Linked DNA regions of Homo sapiens: all the other regions are linked to region 3. The links are contacts of gene promoters, found by promoter capture Hi-C in human tissues and cell types (Jung and others, 2019). All regions are on one chromosome and are shown on one strand. The core of a region is centred on a gene start or on the middle of the fragment in contact, and the rest is flanking DNA. Distances in the headings are between cores, read along the strand shown. Region 1 has its middle 35 kb from the start of LINC01661. Region 2 has its middle 140 kb from the start of LINC01661. Region 3 holds the start of NTNG1 (netrin G1).

Region 1 (5,050 bases), core at 383-2,882, 290 kb after region 3:
CCTGTCATTATGATGTTAGCTGGTTATTTTGCCCGTTAGTTGATGCAGTTTCTTCATAGTGTCGATATCTTTACAATTTGGTATATTTTTGCAGTGGCTGGTACCAGTTTTTCCTTTCCATGCTTAGTGCTTCCTTCAGGAGCTCTTGTAAGGGAGGACTGGTGGTGACAAAATCTCTCAGTATTTGCTTGTATGTAAAGGATTTTATTTCTCCTTCACTTATGAACCTCAGTTTGGCTGGATATGAAATTCTGGGCCTATTGGCCCCCACTATCCTCTGGCTTGCAGGGTTTCTGCAGAGAGATCTGCAGAGAGACAGGCTTCCCTTTGTTGGTAACCGGACCTTCTCTCTGGCTGCCCTTAACATTTTTTCCTTCATTTCAACCTTGTTCAATCTGACGATTATGTGTCTTGGGGTTGCTCTTCTCAAGGAGTATCTTTGTGGTGTTCTCTGTATTTCCTGAATTTGAATATTGGCCTGTCTTGCTAGGTTGGGGAATTTCTCCTGGATAATATCCTGAAGAGTGTTTTCCAACTTGGTTCCATTTTCCCTGTTACTTTCAGATACACTAATCAAACGTAGGTTTGGTCTTTTCAAACAATCCCACATATCTTGGAAGTTTTTTTCATTCCTTTTCTTTTTTCTCTAATCTTGTCTTCCTGCTTTATTTCATTAAGTTGATCTTCAATCTCTGATATCCTTTTTTCTTCTTGATTGATTCAGCTATTGATACTTGTGTATGCTTCACTAAGTTCTCGTGCTGTGTTTTTCAGCTCCATCAGGTCATTTATGTTCTTCTCTAAACTGGTTATTCTAGTTAGCAATTCCTCTAACCTTTTTTCAAGGTTATTTGCTTCCTTGCATTGGGTTAGAGCATGCTTTTTTAGCTTGGAGGAGTTTGTTATTACACACCTTCTGAAGCCTACTTCTGTCAATTCGTCAAACTCATTCTCTGTCCAGTTTTGCTCCCTTGCTGATGAGGAGTTGTGATCCTTTGGAGGAGAAGAGCTGTACTGGTTTTTGGAATTTTCAGCCTTTTTGCACTGTTTTTTTCTCATCTTTGTGGATTTATCTACCTTTGGTCTTTGATGTTGGTGACCTTCAGATGAGATTTTTATATGGACATCCTTTTTGTTGATATTGATGCTATTCCTTTCTGTTTGTTAGTTTTCTTTCTAATAGTCAGGCCCCTCTGCTGCAGGTCTGCTGGAGTGTGTTGGAGTTCCACTCCAGACCCTGTTTGCCTGGGTATCACCAGCAGAGGCTGCAGAACAGCAAATATTGCTGCCTGTTCCTTACTAAGGAAGCTTCATCCCAGAGGGGAATCTGCCAGATGACAGCCAGAGCTCTCCTGTATGAGGTGTCTGTTGACCCCTGCTGGGAGGTGTCTCCCAGTCAGGAGGCACGGGGGTCAGGGACCCACTTGAGGAGGCAGTCTGTCCCTTAGCAGAGCTGGAGCACTGTGCTGGGAGATCTGCTGCTCTCTTCAGAGCTGGCAGGCAGCAATGTTTAGGTCTGCTGAAGCTGCACCCACAGCTGCCCCTTCTCCCAGGTTTCTGTACAGGGAAATGGGAGTTTTATTTATTATCACCTGACTGGGGCTGCTGCCTTTCTTCCAGAGATGTCCTTCTCAAAGAGGAGGAATCTAGAGAGGCAGTCTGGCTACAGGGGCTTTGAGGTGTTGTGGTGGGCTCTGCCCAGTCTGAACTTCCCAGTGGCTTTGTTTACACTGTGAGGGGAAAACTGCCTACTCAAGCCTCAATAATGGCAGACACCCCTCCCCCAACCTAGCTTGAGCATCCCAGATGGACTTCAGACTGCTGTGCTGGCAGTGAGAATTTCAAGCCAGTGGATCTTAGCTTGCTGGGCTCCATGGGGGTGGGATCTGCTAAGCTAGACTACTTGGCTCCCTGGCTTCAGTCCCCTTTCCAGGGGAGTGAATGATTCTGTCTCGCTGGCATTCCAGGTGCCACTGGGGTACGAAAAAAAACTCCTGCAGCTAGCTCAGTGTCTGCTCAAATGGCCGCCCAGTTTTGTGTTTGAAACCCAGGGCCCTAGTGGTGTAGGCACCGGAGGGAATCTTCTGGTCTGTGGGTTGCAAAGACTGTGGGAAAAATGTAGTATCTGGGCTGGAATACACCATTCCTTGGGGCACAGTCCCTCACAGCTTCCTTTGGTTAGGAGAGGGAGTTCCCCAACCCTTTGTGCTTCCTGGGTGAGGCGATGCCTTACCCTATTTCTGCTTGCCCTCCATGGGCTGCACCCACTGTCTAACCAGTCCCAATGAGATGAGCCAAGTACCTCAGTTGGAAATGCAGAAATCACCCGCCTTCTGCATTGATCTCCTTGGGAGCTGCAGAAAGGAGCTGGTCCTATTTGGCCATCTTGCCCAGGTCTCTTCCTTGCCCATTTTCATTGTTTCATTCTTTAGTCTTTTTGTAAATTCTGTAAATGATTGATATTCTGTCAATAAGTTGCTTTCCTATTTAAATTTCAGGACCCATTTCTCTTATTACAGCCCAGAATGCTGACTGATACAAAGGTTATTTGTATTTTTAATATATATTGACATTATTTACCACAGGGAAAAATTATTTTTCTTTTATTCTGTTCTGTGTCCATTCTCACCAGAAAGGTCTTTAGCTCTCCTTTGGTTTTAATTTTGCCAGTCTGGTAATTACCAGAAATGTCTTAATGATATTAGCTTATATTTCCTTGCCTACTGATGAGGTTATATGTCTACTGACTGTATATTAATTACATTTGGATTTGTTCTCCAGTTATTTATGTGTTCGTATTATTTGATTATTTCTCTATTAAGTGGTTTGACTTTTTCTTATGAATTTGGAAAAAGTTCTTTTTGTACTATGGTTAGCAATTTTTTTTTCTGTTAAATATGTTGAAAATATTTTTTAATCTATTTTTTACTGTTTTGTGGTATTATTTTCCATACAAAAAATGTTTAATTTCTACATAGTTAAATATAGCTATCTTATCTTTTAAAACTTCTGGATTTTTCATTTTGTTTAAGAAGTTTTCCCTATCCAAAGTTATATTTGCATATCTATCTTTCTTTATGTATTTCATTTTACATTTAGTTTCTTAACACATTTGGATTTATTTTTGTATCTCTTCATGTATGAGGTACCAGTTCAGCTTTATGTATTGCCAGATGGATGGCCAGTTGTTCCAACATTCTTTATTAAATAAATTATATATTTGCTGATTAATTAAAACCACCTTTGTCAAATAGTGGATCTCCACTTATGCTGTGTTATATTTCTAAACTACTAGTTTTGTTCCATTGATCTATTTTTTCTTCCTATGACAATACAATTGAATTGCAGAAAATATATAATAATTTTTAATATCAGGTGGAATGAATATTCTTCCATTACCTGTTTCTTTATGAGTTCCTATAATTCTGATATACTAACTTTAAGATACTTTATCCATATCCCTTTAAAAAATCTGTGGTGTTGGAACTAAAAAATATATATTAATTTTTGGGGAAACTTACATTTTAATGATACTAAGTTTTCCCATCTAAGAATATAGTATAGATCTTCATTTGCTTGTTTTGGTTTTGTGCCCCTTAATAATAAGATTTCATGTTGTTCTTCACTTAGATCTTGAATTTTCTTGTTAAATTAACACCTTAGTATCTGATAGTTTTTGTTGTTATTGTAAATGTATAATTTCATACCATTTCAATTTCAAGCCACATTGCTAGTATAAAAAAGCCATTGATTTCTGTATTATATCTTGCATTTGTCCTCCTTACCAATCTGCTTAATCTTACTGTTCTCTTACTGAAGAATTTTGTTTCTGCTTTTTGTTCCTTTTTGTTGTATGTTTGAGGGGCTTGAAATGGGCATTAGGATTGCTATAAAAGAAATTCCTAGAGAAATAAAAATTCAATATTATGTTATAGCAGGTTAAACAGTATTTTAAAAGTAAAAAGTTGGTTTGTTTTATTTTTCTATTTGTTTTTTAATCCTTTACCTCCTATTTGAAATATAAAGCACTGGGCTTTTGGATCACATCATAGAATTTATTCCATAATGAAAGGAAGCTACCTCAGGATGTAACATAGAAGCAGTAAAAGGGAACTTTACTCCTTTTTCATCCAGGGATAATTATGAGTAGAGACAACTGAAGATGAGAGCGAAGTTGGTGAGATATTGGATTGAAGATACAGATTCATGAGAAATTGATAGCTTGAAAATCGTAGATGGGGAGGACTCTAGCTGTAGTCCCCATTAGTGATCTGAAGAGGTCACCATACAGAACAAATCCATGCTAACATGGGAATCATGGTCAACCACAAAGAGGGTCTATTTTGTAATTTAGCGGGTCCCTTTGCTGGTGTGTGGCATGGACACAGATACGAGAACTGGTAAGAATCCTATGGAGCCATAGTGGAAGCCAGGTGTCATTATACAATAGTTCTTGGTCATGCAGGTATTTTTCAGAGGCAGAGATAAACCAGGTGCCAGATGAAGTGTTTCATAGAAACTCAAAATGTCTTCAGAACTACTGAGAGCCTAGCAAAGGCTTACCCAGCAGAGAGGGGCCACCGGGTCTGAATCAAGCTGAAAAATAATAGACCACAATTTTATCAGTCAAAGAGAGGTTCCTAACAATCAAAGATAGGATAAAGCCTGCAAAACACTGGTGGACTCAAGTTGGCACACATGCAGAGATTAGCACAAGGTCAAGTAAGGCTCTCCTACACACTCAGGCACCATTCTAAGGGAACATAGGAAGAAGGGAATAAACAAAAAGATTCACTAAAGAGAATATTTAAATTGTTACATTATAATTAGTGTAAAAGAATTTGACTAAAATTGGATTTTTTTCTTGCCACTGTTAAAGAAAAAAATTTTCGCCCTGGACACTTAGTAAAAATTGCAAGGAATATTTTTTTCAAGACTTGTAGTAAGGGTCAAAACTATTGTAATAAAGAGAGATTGAACTCAGCTCCTAATACAAAAGAACAAATAGGGATTTAACGCCAACTGCGATGAGGGAGTGGATGGAAAATTA
Region 2 (4,424 bases), core at 1,893-4,392, 460 kb after region 3:
TATGATACCACTGAAATGAATAAATCTATCTTCCTGTAGGAGACAAAAAGTGCCTTGCTCTAAAGCAGTAATGTGTGTAGAGAGGAGATAAGTGTGTTGTGGATGTCATGACAAGGACAGGGCTAAAAGCTGCAAGTGAATTCTCAGTCAGATTAGACTCCTCCCTGACCCACTAAGTAAATGCTGTACCTGATTGGCCTTCTGCAGTCCACAAATAGTGTTTGCATTTCACTTGCTGAAAAAGCAGCAGTCACGCTTTTTTCCCCAATCCGAACAAAAAGAATAATTGAGAGCTCTTGAGGGTGGTAAGAGAGGTTGGTGGGCAGAAGTTTGAGGGGAATGTGGAGAATACTTCAATCAAACCTGGAAGTGTGACAAGCCTGGGCCAGAGGAAACAACTTTATTCACCTCCGTGACTCCTCCTCATCCTGCTCAGTACACATTCGGCTTTTCAATTAGCATTTAATTTCTTTGGCATACTATTTACTCTGTTCATGGTGTACATGTATGGTACTCCCTTACTTTCAGTCATGGATCATGGGTAACTCAGCAAAAGCTCAGCTTATCGATTTTAACATCCTCCTAATTAGGCTCCTGATTAAACTACCAACCCATCGTCCACCCAGAAGCCACCAGGGTATATCTAAAGAGCAGATCAAAGAGTGACTTTCCTTGTCTGACTCCAAAATCAAAATCAAAGTCAAAGCCTTTTTATATCAGTCACTTTACTCTGAGAAGAGATTCCACATTCCTTAATACAATCAAGAGTCTTTATTCCCAAAATACCTCTCCCTAGTCAAGGCCTCCAGTTTCAGATTTTGCTGCAAACAAACTCCAGTTTCAGTTTGCTCCAGTTTCAGTTTGTCCTGTTTTACCCTCTGCATGCCACATGTTAGCCACAGTGAACTGTGTTGTAGTTACTAGTGTTTTCCACTTGCTTTTGTTTCCATGTGTTTGCACCGTGACTTCTCTCCATTCTCCTACCAACAAGTACTCACCTTTACCAGGAAATTGCCTTTTTATGCCCCAGTCCTTGGTTTAGGGGTTTCTTAAACACGAGGATGAATTTGTGTCTTGAATCTGTATTCCCGTTGTGTCCCCAATCATCCTGTTTTCAAACTTTGCCACAGCGAATAGTATATGTCTATTTTCTGCAAGCGTCTTTCAGTATACTACAAGTTCCCTGAGAACATGGCTCCTCTCTCATGAACCATTCTTTTTTTTTTCTGAGATGGAGTCTCACTCTGTCACCAGGCTGGAGTGCATTGGTGCCATCTCAGATCACTGCAACCTCTGCCTCCCGCGTTCAAGCCATTCTCCTGCCTCAGCCTCCAGAGTAGCTGGGACTACAGGCATGCACCACCATGCCAAGCTAATTTTTGTATTTTTTAGTAGAGACGGGGTTTCACCATGATGGCCAGGATGGTCTCGATCTCTTGACCTCGTGATCTGTCTGACTTGGCCTCCCAAAGTGCTGGGATTACAGGTGTGAGCCACCATGCCCGGCATCTCTTCATTGTCCAGCACAGTGCATGGCAATGAGCATCTCTTTGTTAAAACTTCATGTTAACTTGCTGTTCTCATTGCGCTGTGTTTGGGGAAAGGATTTGGGTTGACTAGCTAAATACAAAACCACAAGGTAGGAAATCCAAAGTTATGCTTTGTGAGGCTACAAGATGCCTTGATACTATATTATCAAATAACAAGTAATTAAAATTATGAATAACTTATTCTTTTCTGCAACCATTTTTCCCATGTATTATCTATGTGTCTACATTAGCAGAAACCTCACAACTTCCCAATCTGGTAGCAACTGTTGCCATCATGTCACATAATAATTACTTTTCATAGTTTCAGGTAAAGTCTTGCTCTGTTGGCCAGGCTGGAATGCAGTGGCATAATCATAACTCACTGTAGCCTCAAACTCCTAGGCTCAAGCAATCCTCCCACCTCAGCCTCCCAAGTAGCTGGGGCAACAAGGGCATGCCATCATGCCCTGAAAATTTTTTTAACAAATTTTGTAGAGATGGGGTCTTGTCATGTTGCCCAAGCTGGTCTTGAATTCTTGGGCTCAAGGGATCCTCCTGCATTGCCTCCCAAAGTGCTGGGATTATAGGCATAAGCCACTGCCCTTGGCTAATTGTTATTTCAATAAGGTAAATATATAATGTCTTCACCTTGAAAAGCATAATGATTATCCTTTTATGTATGTATATATACACAGATGTATGTGTCTATCTTTGAATGTTTGTGATAATTTCACATGCATTATGTTATTTATTCTTTACAATACTATCTTGAGGTGGATAGTGCAATTTTTATTATCTCTATTTTATAGATGACACTCATCTATAAAGTATGTTTACTATTTAGCATGTGTCAACAGCCAGTAAGTAATAGAGTAGGCATATCTGACTCACCACATAGAGTCTCAATTTATGAGGAGTTTCTTCTCAATTTTGGAGTGTCTGGGAAAGGCTCAGTCTCAAAGCCTAAAATAATCTGTACTGTAAACCCCATGAGAGCAAGGCCCACATTTATTTCCTTCACGACTGTGCTTTTCATCACTGGGCTTGACAGAGAATAGGTACTTAAGAATTATTTGTTAAATCAGTGAATGAATCTATACTTGGAATTCTTTTCATTGCCTTCCAAGCTTTTTTATATTTGCAAATGGCACACAGAAAAGAGGTGTGATCCTCTATGGCACCTGACATGGAATAGGATAGTAGAAAGAGACAGGCTGAGTTCAATTCCGGCTCCGTTATTTATTAGCTGTGCACTCTTGGACCATTATTTAAATTCTAAATCTCAGTTCTATCATCTGGAAGTTCCATCATCTGGCTAGAACATAAATACAATATTACTCTCTTCATAGGGTTTTTCTTATGGGAAGTAAATGAGATAATGTATAAAATGCATTGACACAGGTCTAGCATTTAGTAGATGCTAGATAAATATTACTAGTTATCTTCCCACTGTGAAGGAGAAGTGTTAATTCATATCCATTTAGGTCAGCAAGAGATTCAATCATTAAATTTTTTTTCTAAACAGTTATTACATATTTATAATTCCAGGCTGCTTGATTTATATGTGCCCTGTTAGCTGCTTCTAAGCAGTTTCCAGCTTTCGCATACCCCTGGAGTTTATCTTATTCTGCTTTATAGGTTGAAAATAAATTTTGAAAATCATACCAATATAACTCAACAATCTTTTACGCTGATGGATTTAGTTGTGAGTTTTAGCTAGGAAAACTAACAACAAGAGTAAAATGTTTTGTAAATCCATACCTGATTGGAGAGAGGATATTAGAAGTTAAGCTCTTGGTTTTAATATATCTAGGCATTAAGCTACCTTTGTACTTTGCTTGGTATGCTAATCCACACAGAAAGCATTACAGAAATTTCGATTTCACGAAGCCCTCTCAAGTGATTCTTTTAACTGTGTGAGTGCTGAAATGTGCAGCTTTCCATCCATTCTATCTACTTAAGGATTCAGAAAACAACATTAGTTTTGCTTTTAAACAAAAATCATTTTAGGCAGGAGCCTTGTTTAGGGAATTAGAAAAGATAATGATACCTTTTTTGATTCCTTGTGTTGCTCTATTAATTAAATTAGTTCATTTTGTTTCTTTCCTTCTTTGTTATTTTTAAAAATAAGTTAAAAATATGTTCTTGTCTACTTCTGCAACTGAAATTGCTGCTTGTTAACTTTTGGGGGCTCTTTCTTTTCTGGTGAAATATATGTGGATTTCTGAAGCAATATAAAAATCTATATAAACGGTTTCTGTAGAGTCTTTTGCAATCAGGCTATGGTTTGAATAGTGGCTCTGATTTTTTAACTAGATTCCTTTAACTATTGTATTTCCCTTTGGTCAAAAGCAGTGATTAATATCCACCTAACCAGTTTGTTGTGTAGGTAGAGTAATATATGTACATTTCTCTGTATGGAGCAGAAGCTCGATAAATATTAATCTCCTCTTCTCTCAAGTATTCTTTCACCATCTATACGCTGTTGATAATTTTATGTTTGGTAATAATAACATGTTGCATTTATGTACCATTTTTGAATTTTGCCAAGTACTCTTCTGTGCTGTCTTTTAACCTCACATCAAATCTGGGAGGTGGATAGCACAGTGATTATCATTTCTGTTTGGGAGACTAAAAAACTTAATGTAAACTTCTTAGCTGTAGGGGACTTTTGCTCTTTTTTCAGTATCTCAGGCTGAGCCTAACACAGAGCTTGGCATGCATTAGGGGCCATATATATACCTGTACTGAACTAATGATAGCAAGAACAGTAATTTGCCCAAGGTCACACAGAGAGATGTAATGTCAAGACCAGGATAGGGCTACTCTGACTTTCAGAGTCTAATGGAAATTAGACAAGGGGTGAGCATATATATATTTCCCAAAACAGTCAAC
Region 3 (4,891 bases), core at 2,372-4,871:
TGCAGCTAATTCCCTTCCACCTTGGATTAATTTTGCAGAAGCCATTTTCACAGGCCCTTTCTTTCACCAGAAAAAAAAAGCCTCCCAAAATATTACATGGAAGTAATAATGGTTAATATTACAGGCAATTATATTCCAAAAGCAATTGCCAGTTTCATCAACTGAGAGGAAGACATTATCAGTAAATCTCCTAATCTAGCTGGTTTTCAGCATTCATTTTATTATATAATCTCACTAGCAGGTGGGAATGGTGGTAGTAAGCTATTTTTTTCATAAATATTCAGCTTTTCAGGGGTACCTGAAATACACAACTATTGACTCATTCCTCATTCACATTAAGAATTTTATAAATATGCATGTTTCTGAATGGGAAGGAACAAAAGGAAAATTGACTATATAGATCATTGAGTGAAAATATAAAAAGATAAAGATATACAAAATTATAACCTATCAAAATTAGCAGCTTCCAACAGTCATAATGAAATTTATTACATAAGATATTTTAACATGTATTCAATGCTCTTTGCAGCTATTTGTTCTGAAGAAAGCATTTTCTAGTCAACTTAATGGAAAACATATGCTTCTATCCTTTTGTTAACTGTCTCTCAAAATATAAGGAATTTAATATGTACTGCAACATCATTGGCATAGCTTACTCACACTTGATTGGGTATTATGAGCAACTGTCTATCATGAGATTCTTAATAAACCCAAATAACACACCGTGGTAATTGAAAGATCTCTATTTTCATTGAGAGAAGACTGATTCAAGAAATTAGATAGCACATGTTTTGCAGGATGATTGAGGATGGGATAATACCCAAAACTATTTCAGAATCAGTTAAGCCTAGAAGAAATCTGGAATTTAATTACCACATGAAAAACAAATATTTAATTCTCATGCAGGGAAGTTCAGAGATCTAAGGTCTCAAACGCATATATGAGAAAATCTACACCTACCTGAAGTTTTGAAACAGAACTTTGGATTCTGCAAATAAAATTATTTTTTAAAGTATGCTAAATCTCATACTAACCTAAGACTTTACTAATATAATCTCCTATACAATATAATTCACACACATATATTTCAATGTTAACATATAATTGGTTTTCAAAGTTGAATCCAATTTTCTTTTTTCCAAGTGACTTGATGCCTTTGTAACTAAAACTCTCCAAATTTTTATGACACTTAGAAATCCTATCAAATAAATGTGTAATGGTTTAACTTTTTAAACAAATTACCTGAATATTTTTCAGAATAATAATGGAAGCAAAAATAGGTATTTGCACCACTTGCAAATATACAAAAGGAAACTGCAAAATACATTTGCCTCCTCCTAAAAAGGCTAACCTGAATCATTTTAACACATATACCCATTGAAAACTGACAAAACAAAAATATTAACAGGAAACCAGCTTTATGTTCAAATAAACTGTTTCCATGCAAAAGTTTTAAGATTATCCGTCTTAAATTCCACAGTAAGGAAATACCACCAAATTAGTAGTGCAGTATATAGAATCCTGAATGCCTTCATGGTGGTCTTCAGTGGGTGAAATATATCTCATTTCACGGCATCCAGAAAAGAAAATATATCCCTGGAACAACATTACATGTGAAATACTTGATGCACATTTTTCCTTGCATGTTGATCCACATGCAGAGATCCAAATTTTATCTTAATGAAAAATCGAAAGTTGCTTATCTTCAAAAAGAATCTTGGACAGTTACTGAGCTGCTTTTCCTTTGCCAAAGAGAAAGGGAGGCGGGTAAGGCATTCAAAGTGACACAGTTCAAAATACTTAATGAAATGTGGAATTGCTAATTCCCTCACTAGAGATCCTCCTCAAGGGACAAACAAAACAGAAAAGCCTCCCCTGAAAAAAAAAAAAATTATTTTTTGGAAAACTTTCCAACAAGCTTAACTACTAAGCATATCTGAATAAGTGATTTTAATGGAAGATCTTCCTGGGTTTTTTTTTTTTTCATTTCTGTAAGATAAAACAACTTTTAGTATTTTCAGTCATAAAACAGGGCCTTATTTCTAGAGCAATTCTACTGCCAGATTCACCATATGTTTAGTGGAGTTCTGAATCTTACTCAGAATTTTCCATTCCAAAGATTGACAATTTGTTATGAGGAGTGGCTCCATTATTCCCTGTATAAAGAGAAGAATGGGTGAGAGAGGAGGACCGTCTACTCACTGGAAATCTGTACCTGATGCAACTATAGGAGCTCAACCTGCGACTTTTCCAAGTAAAGTTGCTTTAAAATCCCCGCTAGGAATTTTCTTCCCTTGCCCTGTAAGATGACAGCCTACTCTTAAGTGGATTTCTGAAGGAAAAAAAAAAAAAGTCCCCGGGTGAGGGTACTAAAATTAACAGCAGAGGGCGCAGTTTCTTTTTATATCTAAGTTTTTCCTTGTATGAATCACTTAATTGGTTATTTTAGGCCCAATAATATTCAGTATTATTTGTATTATATATAGATATCCACAGATCCATACAGGAGTGCAATTCAGTGTCCCTAGCCGAATCCATCAACCGATTAATATGATGCCAGTAAAGAATATGAGAGAATATTCCAAACAGCATCCCTACACCAAGTCTTCCTCTTTCAATTTCCCTTTCTCCCCAGCTGCACAACATGGGATAGTAATGTTTTAATCTAGCACCAATAAAGGCGATTAAAAGAAGGGACTTCAAAAGCTCTCGATGTGGCCACCAGATCCCCAAGGCCGGCAATAGGGCAAGTGTTTTTTTGTTTTTTTTGTTTGCTTTTCCCCAAACAAATATAATTGGCGAAAGAAAGAAAAAATAACGACAAGCCGCCTGAGCGATGTGTGTGGCCAGGTGTGCGTGAGAGAGGGAGAGCGCGGGGCCCCTGTCAGTCGGCGGATGGAGGCTCAGACCCCACGCCTGGGCTCCGGACACAACAAGAGGACGCATCACCGGCCCGGGGCGCACCCCCGGGAAGACTTGTGTGTGGGTGTGAGCGTGTGCCGCTGTGTGTGCGCGTAGGGCTCCGCGCGCTGCCTCCTCGGGGCGCTTTACAAAGTTCCTCGCCCACCCGGAGCCTTCCCTCCCGCCTGTGCATCGCAGCGGGTGGGGCGGGGGGCGGCGGGGGGTGGGGAAACCCGGGGGAGAGGGGCACGGGCGAGAGGCTCGGGTCGCAGTAGGAGAGGCGAGCCGCAGGCACTTACCGTGTGGCTCGTTTGCCCTTGCGCCGGGCGGGAGCCGAGCCGACGGCGCGGGGCGGCGGCCCTGCGCAGCCAGCCTGGTCCGCCTCGGGCGGCGGCCGCAGCAGCGGAGCCCGCGGGCGGCGTACGGGCGGAGGGCGGCAGCTCCCGCGGAGCCTCCTCCCCAGGCGGGAGCGGGCGGAGCGGGAGGGGTGGGCGTGAGGACCCGAGCCGCCGCCACCGCCGCAGCCCGGGGATTCCGATCGCGCCCGGCCGCCGGCGGGAGAGGACCCCGAGGACCGAGAACCCAGCGCCGGCCCGCCACTCCCCGCCGCTTAATTACCTTCGCCTCCGCCCCCGGGGGGAGCCTCCTGCAAGTCGCCCCCTCTCGGAGCCCGCACCCAGAGGGGGAATTCCTTCCCGTTGACGTCCTCTTCCGAAATGCAAAAGATCAGTGACTTTGACAGGTAGATGAGGGGGAGGGAGTAAGGGTGGGCGGAGAGGAAGAGAGGATGAGAAAGGTGCCTCTCCCTCCAAAAATATAGTGATATTAATAATGAGATCTCAGCCTTCGGAGGTCGTGCCAGCCCAGTCCCCTGCTCGCCGGCTCTCCTCCGCGCCTCCTCGCTCCGCTGCCTCTGACACTTCTCGCCTTAAACTTTTACTGAGGGATATTTTTTCTTTTTTCTATTTCTATTTCTTTTTTTTTTCCTCTTTTTTTTTTTTTCAAGCCGCAGGACGATTTTCTGGTTCCCGGGGATCAGAACCAGCGGCCAGGCGGTTCTATGCCGCTTGGCACCGCTTTCATTTTATTTCAGATGAAGACGTTGAGCTTAGTCAGAAGGGGCATAAATCAGGACAATTAGCATTGGCGCCAAGAAGATCCTCTAATACCAATTTCGCCCGGGTTTCCTTCGCGCATTCCTCCACTCAAGTCAGAAATGTCACTGCACATAGCACTGATGGCAGTGAGACGCGACGCACCCAAAGTCCGTTTGATGAAATATACATGGCCCACGACGCTTCTGGATTGCGGCTCCCGGACTCCCCGCCCCCACCAGCGGCTCCCGGCCGGGACCCTGCTCCGAGCGGGCAGCGAGCTCCTGGCAAACTTAGGGGCCAGTGCCAATTAAAGAGTGAGCGCGAGAGCCGGAAAGAGGAGCGGCAAAGAAGCAAGCCCGGGGAAGCCGCAGCCCTCGGAGGGGTGGCATGTACGTTTCACTTAAAAAGCAGATCTTCTTCTGCAACTGCCAGCAAGTGGAAGGATAGCAAACCTTATACTACCTCGAGACCTGTGCGCTCCGAGCGGTCCTAACTCCGTCCCGCTCGCTGTTGCTGTTGCTGGTGCTGCTCCGGCTGCAGCTGCTGCCGCTCCACGACCTCGGGGCGCTGAGGCAACAGGGCCCCCTCCCTCTACTCCCCATCCCCCCCGGCTCCTCCACAGAAGCGCCGTTTCCAGTAACTCCTCGTGTACCTCCCACTTCTGCCGCCGTCCATCCCACCCCTCTCTCTTCTGTCCCCTCCCCAAACCGTTCCCAAGCACACCCTTCGCCGCTGGAAGTGATCACAATGTTGTTTTTCAACAAGCACTTCCTTTGCCCGGAGGCCCCTACAGCCCTAGACTGGAAACTCCTCCTTTAGAAATTCATTCCCCTTTAAAAAGTTGAAGTTCAAGGGAGAGCTGCGCATTTCAGGCTTCCTTGCCTTTTCTAAGA

The links. Contacts are between HindIII fragments. The study calls those that stand out against the background at their distance.
Region 1: a fragment that was not itself captured here is called in contact with the fragment with the promoter of NTNG1 in region 3 in 1 of the 25 tissues and cell types used here (mesendoderm cells).
Region 2: a fragment that was not itself captured here is called in contact with the fragment with the promoter of NTNG1 in region 3 in 1 of the 25 tissues and cell types used here (H1 embryonic stem cells).

The regions. Positions count from the first base shown.
Region 1 is chr1:106,850,297-106,855,346 of GRCh38, reverse strand. No RefSeq gene overlaps it. Among named protein-coding and RNA genes, the nearest start is that of LINC01661, 35 kb to the right of the region's middle. The HindIII fragment of the contact is 3,613 bases long and covers 1-3,438 here.
Region 2 is chr1:106,676,848-106,681,271 of GRCh38, reverse strand. No RefSeq gene overlaps it. Among named protein-coding and RNA genes, the nearest start is that of LINC01661, 140 kb to the left of the region's middle. The HindIII fragment of the contact is 5,746 bases long and covers 270-4,424 here.
Region 3 is chr1:107,139,769-107,144,659 of GRCh38, reverse strand. NTNG1 (netrin G1) reads right to left here and starts at 3,621. Exons shown (of 8, transcript NM_001113226.3): 1 at 3,520-3,621. RefSeq lists silencers at 2,927-3,206, 3,227-3,516 and an enhancer at 3,450-3,981. The HindIII fragment of the contact is 9,891 bases long and covers 483-4,891 here.